Linked DNA regions of Homo sapiens: region 1 is linked to region 2. Evidence: promoter capture Hi-C in human tissues and cell types (Jung and others, 2019). All regions are on one chromosome and are shown on one strand. Each heading gives the region's core, a stretch centred on a gene start or on the middle of the fragment in contact. The rest is flanking DNA. Distances are from core to core; before and after follow the strand shown. Region 1 has its middle 15 kb from the start of SDR9C7. Region 2 holds the start of RDH16 (retinol dehydrogenase 16).

Region 1 (2,718 bases), core at 116-2,615, 38 kb after region 2:
GAGTTATAGTGGGGTATAAGACAGAGTCCTTGCCCTCAAAGAGTTTACATTCTAACGGAGGGAGGGGTTGGCCAATAGACATATAAAAAGTGAATGAAATAATTTTATATACTGATAAGTGCCATGGAGAAGAGAAAATATAACAATGTAATAGATGACCAGGGAGGCTGCTTACCTTTTTTTCTAATCAACATTAATGAGGTAAAGTTTGCATAAAAAGAAATGCATCCATCTAAGTGTACCATCTGATGAGTCTTGTCACATGTTTACACCTGTACAACCACCACCAGTCAAAATATAAAACATTTTTCTCATCCTAGAAAGTTCCCTTGTACCTGTCTGCAGTTAATCATCCCTCCTCTCCACCCTGGTTCCAGACAACCACTGATGTGTTTCTGTCACTATAGATTCATTTTGAGACTGCTTACTTTTTAAAAAGACCACTTTTGCTGCCATTGGGGAATGAATTGGAAGAACTGGATTGAAGAGGTGCAAGTCTAGACCTGATAAGAGAAGTGTGACAATAAAATAATAGAAATAAAAATAACTGGCATTTATTGGACATTTATTCAGTCCAAGCACTGCGCTTAGAATTTCCCACATATTATCCATTCAATTTTATTTAATCTCTGCAACAAGTCCTGTGAGGTTACTCCTATGTTATAGAGGAGGAAACTGAGGCTCACAGAGGTAAAGTAATTTGCACAAGATTACACTGCTAATAAATGGCAGAGTCAGAGTGCGGTTCGCCACATGCTACAATAGCAAGCACTTCCAGAGTGCTCACCACATGCCAGACACTGTTCTAAGCACTTTAATTTTCTTTTTTTTAATTTTTTATTTTACTTTAAGTTCTGTGATACATGTGCAGAACCTGCAGGTTTGTTACATAGGTATACATGTGCCATGGTGGTTTGCTGTACCTATTAACCCATCATCCAGGTTTTAAGCCCTGCATACATTAGGTATTTGTCCTAATGCTCTCCCTCCCCTAGCCCCTTACCCTCAGACAGGCCCCAATGTGTGATGTTCCCCTCCCTGTGTCCATGTGTTCTCATTGTTCAACTCCCACTTATGAGTGAGAACATGCAGTGTTTGGTTTTCTCTTCCTGTGTTAGTTTGCTGATAATGATGGCTTCCAGCTTCATCCATGTCCCTGCAAAGGACATGATCTCATTTTTTTAAAATTTTATTATTATTATACTTTAAGTTTTAGGGTACACGTGCACAACGTGCAGGCTTGTTACATATGTATACATGTGCCATGTTGGTGTGCTGCACCCACCAACTCGCCATCTAGCATTAGGTATATCTCCCAATGCTATCCCTCTCCCCTCCCCCCACCCCACAACAGTCCCCGAAGTGTGATGTTCCCCTTCCTGTGTCCATGTGTTCTCATTGTTCAATTCCCACCTATGAGTGAGAACATGTGGTGTTTGGTTTTTTGTCCTTGCGGTAGTTTGCTGAGAATGATGGTTTCCAGTTTCATCCATGTCCCTACAAAGGACATGAACTCTTCATTTTTTATGGCTGCATAGTATTCCATGGTGTATATGTGCCACATTTTCTTAATCCAGTCTATCGTTGTTGGACATTTGGGTTGGTTCCAAGTCTTTGCTATTGTGAATAGTGCCGCAATAAATATAAGTGTGCATGTGTCTTTACAGCAGCATGATTTATAATCCTTTGGGTATATACCCAGTAATGGGATGGCTGGCTCAAATGGTATTTCTAGTTCTAGATCCCTGAGGAATCGCCACACTGACTTCCACAATGGTTGAACTAGTTTACAGTCCCACCAACAGTGTAAAAGTGTTCCTATTTCTCCACATCCTCTCCAGCACCTGTTGTTTCCTGACTTGTTAATGATCGCCATTCTAACTGGTGTGAGATGGTATCTCACTGTGGTTTTGATTTGCATTTCTCTGATGGCCAGTGATGATGAGCATTTTTTAATGTGTCTTTTGGATGCATAAATGTCTTCTTTTGAGAAGTGTCTGTTCATATCCTTCACCCACTTTTTGATGGGGTTGTTTGTTTTTTTCTTGTAAATTTGTTTGAGTTCATTGTAGATTCTGGATATTAGCCCTTTGTCAGATGAGTAGGTTGCGAAAATTTTCTCCCATTTTGTAGATTGCCCGTTCACTCTGATGGTAGTTTCTTTTGCTGTGCAGAAGCTCTTTAGTTTAATTCGATCCCATTTGTCAATTTTGGCTTTTGTTGCCATTGCTTTTGGTGTTTTAGACATGAAGTCCTTGCCCATGCCTCTGTCCTGAATGGTAATGCCTAGGTTTTCTTCTAGGGTTTTTATGGTTTTATGTCTAACATGTAAGTCTTTAATCCATCTTGAATTAATTTTTGTATAACGTGTAAGGACATGATCTCATTTTTTATGGCTGCATAGTATTCCATTGCGCATACGTGCCACATTTTCTTTATCCAGTCTATCATTGATGGGCATTTGGGTTGGTTCCAAGTCTTTGCTATTGTTAAGTAGTGGTGCAGTAAACATATGTGTGCATGTGTCTTTATAGTAGAATGATTTATCATCCTTTGGGTATATACCCAGGAATGGGATTGCTGGGTCAAATGCTATTTCTGGTTCTGGATCCTTGAGGAATCGCCACACTGTCTTACACTGTCTTCCACAATGGTTGAACTAATTTACACTCTTACCAACAATGTAAAATTGTTCCGATTTCTCCACAGCCTTACCAG
Region 2 (2,869 bases), core at 131-2,630:
TATGAGATGTCAGTCGGCCCCTACTGGGAGGTGTCTCCCAGTTAGTCTACACAGGGTTCAGGGACCCATTTGAGAAGGCAGTCTGTCTGTTCTAAGAGCTCAAACACCATGCTGGGAGAACCACTGCTCTCTTCAGTGCTGTCAGACAGGGATGTTTAAGTCTGCAGAGGTTTCTGCTGCCTTTTGTTCAGTTATGCACTGCTCCCAGAGGTGGAGTCTATAGAGGCAGAAAGCCTTGCCTTGCTGCAGTGGGCTTCGCCCAGTTTGAGCTGCCCAGCTGCTTTGCTTTCCTACTCAAGCCTCAGCAATGGTGAGCAACCCTCCTCCTGCCAGGCTGCTGCCTTGCAGGTTGATCTCAGACTACTGCACTAGCAGTGAGCAAAGCTCTGTGGGAATGGGACCCACCAAACCAGGCACAGGATATAATCTCCTGGTGTGCCATTTGCTAAGACCATTGGAAAAGTGCAGTATTTGAGCAGGAGTGTCTTGTTTTTCCAGGTACAGTCTGTCACGGCTTCCCTTGTCTAGGAAAGGGAAATCCCCTGACCTCTTACACTTCCTGGGTAAGGCAATGCCCTGCCTTGCTTCGGCTCACCCTCTGTGGGCTGCACGCACTGTCCAACCAGTCCCAGTGAGATGAACCAGGTACCTCAGCTGGAAATGCAGAAATCACCCATTTTCTGCATCAGTCACACTGGGAGCTGCAGACCGGAGCTGTTCCTATTTGCCCATCCTCTCCCTGCTTTCTTTACCTCTGAGGTTGGATTCTCCCTGTGGGATCCTGCAATCCTTCTGCCCCAAAAAACTATTATAGCAGGAGGGAACCTGTTCCTGCTCACTCTTTGCCTTCTCCTTCTCATCCTAGACAGCCTGACCGTGCCCTAGTTTTCAGAGGAGTGATTGATTCTGGGGTGCGGAGCAGGATGAGGAAACTCAGGCTCAGAGAGGGATTTCCACCTAATGTGCCTGGAAACCATGGGTAGCTACCCAATAAGGCCTTTCTATGTTCAGAAGGTCATGGACCAGGAGTGTTGGTATCGGAGCTTTGTAGAGACAGTTTTGACCCCTGTACTTAGAGCAGAGGGGTGTGTTTGCCATGGAGAGTGTGTGTGGGCAGCTGTGTGTAAGCCTGTGTGAGTTCTGTGTATGTTCCTGTGTGAATATATGTGTGTGCTCCTTCATGGACACAGCATGCATGTAGTGGGCATAGCAAGGCAGAGAGAAATCAGGAGACTAGGGGCACATTGCCCAGTAGGAAGATAGTATCTTCCTACTGGGCAGGACTTGAGGTGTGCAAAGGTGTGCATGAGTACTGCAAAAGCAGTTCAAAGAGCAGAGAGGTGGGGCCAGAATAAATATGTTGCAGAAAGGCAGTCATCAGGGAGGAAAGTGAGGATTCCCTGCCAAAATGCCTGAGGGCTTCCCTGCCTACCACAGCCCTCTGTGTTCTTAAATCCTCCTGTCTGAACAGAGGCCAGACTCTGGTTTCCCCCACAGCCTGTCTGTGTCTGTCCTCTGCAAAGCCATGTGGCTCTACCTGGCGGTTTTCGTGGGCCTGTACTACCTTCTGCACTGGTACCGGGAGAGGCAGGTGCTGAGCCACCTGAGAGATAAGTATGTGTTCATCACGGGCTGTGACTCTGGCTTCGGGAAACTGCTGGCCAGACAGCTGGATGCACGAGGCTTGCGGGTGCTGGCTGCATGTCTGACGGAGAAAGGAGCCGAGCAGCTGAGGGGCCAGACTTCAGACAGGCTGGAGACGGTGACCCTGGATGTTACCAAGACAGAGAGCGTTGCTGCAGCCGCCCAGTGGGTGAAGGAGTGCGTGAGAGACAAAGGTAACCACCCAGGTTTGTCAAGTCTGTCTGTGTCTTCCCTCTGTGTGAAGGGACCACCTCCTGTCTGCTCCCTGGGAAGATTCCTACAGTGTCTTTCCAGGTTGAAGTAACAGTAGCTTTCTAATATTTCTCACTTAACAGGCTGCCTGAACCCCATCTCTTTTCAATCCTTAACCTCTCCCGACATTGGAGGTGTCTAGTCTTGGGGAGAGTTTGCCCTGATGAGATTTTCTCTCCAGAATTCCTCTCTATCCTCTCCCTCCTGTCTAAGCAGAAGTCATGTGTTGTTTGATGCTAAGAGCCTGGGTTAGAGATCTGGAGACTTGCTGGAGCATCGTTGAGAAGGGAGCACAGGGCTGCAAGTGTGCACGGAGGCTGTGCCTGTGCTGGAGCCAGGCTTATGTTCCCAGCACTTTACCTTGTTTTTGCTAGGGCCCATCAGCGTCCACTGAGAGCTACGATCATCTCCATCTTCAGAGGAGAGTATCAGCTTAAGGACTGCTTAAGGAAGGCAGAACTAGTAAGGGGTTACTTTTTCTTTCTTTCTTCTTTTCACTACACTAATTCATCTGTCTTATTATAGAGGAAGAAAGAAACATGGATTTATTTTATGTAACAATAAATCAGAATATGATCTTTGTGGAAAACACTGAAAAGAATAAAGATGAAAACAAGTTTCCCTGAAATTGTCATCCACACATAAGTCCTTTTTACAATTATACAAAATTAGGATTTTATATTTTGTTCTTAGTTTCAGTCACCTTAAATTCTCTGGAGAAGATGAACACTTTTCCACCATAATGACTGTTTTTATAAAATTATATTTAATTATTTAGAATACTGTATCCTTCCAATAGCCTTACCTATGTAATCCATACTGAGTGGTTGGATATGAAATTCCTTCCTGCTTTTTATTCATCATAAATGTCATCTTGGTGGACTTTTATTTGCCAACGTCTCTGTAAGTGTGAGTATTGATTGGATTCTTAAAAATGAGATGTCTGGGTGGAGGAATCTGCATTTGCATCAGG

The links. Contacts are between HindIII fragments. The study calls those that stand out against the background at their distance.
Region 1: a fragment that was not itself captured here is called in contact with the fragment with the promoter of RDH16 in region 2 in 1 of the 25 tissues and cell types used here (adrenal gland).

The regions. Positions count from the first base shown.
Region 1 is chr12:56,918,017-56,920,734 of GRCh38, reverse strand. No RefSeq gene overlaps it. Among named protein-coding and RNA genes, the nearest start is that of SDR9C7, 15 kb to the left of the region's middle. The HindIII fragment of the contact is 7,973 bases long and covers 1-2,718 here.
Region 2 is chr12:56,956,119-56,958,987 of GRCh38, reverse strand. RDH16 (retinol dehydrogenase 16) reads left to right here and starts at 1,380. Exons shown (of 4, transcript NM_003708.5): 1 at 1,380-1,838. The coding sequence starts at 1,526. The HindIII fragment of the contact is 7,259 bases long and covers 1-2,869 here.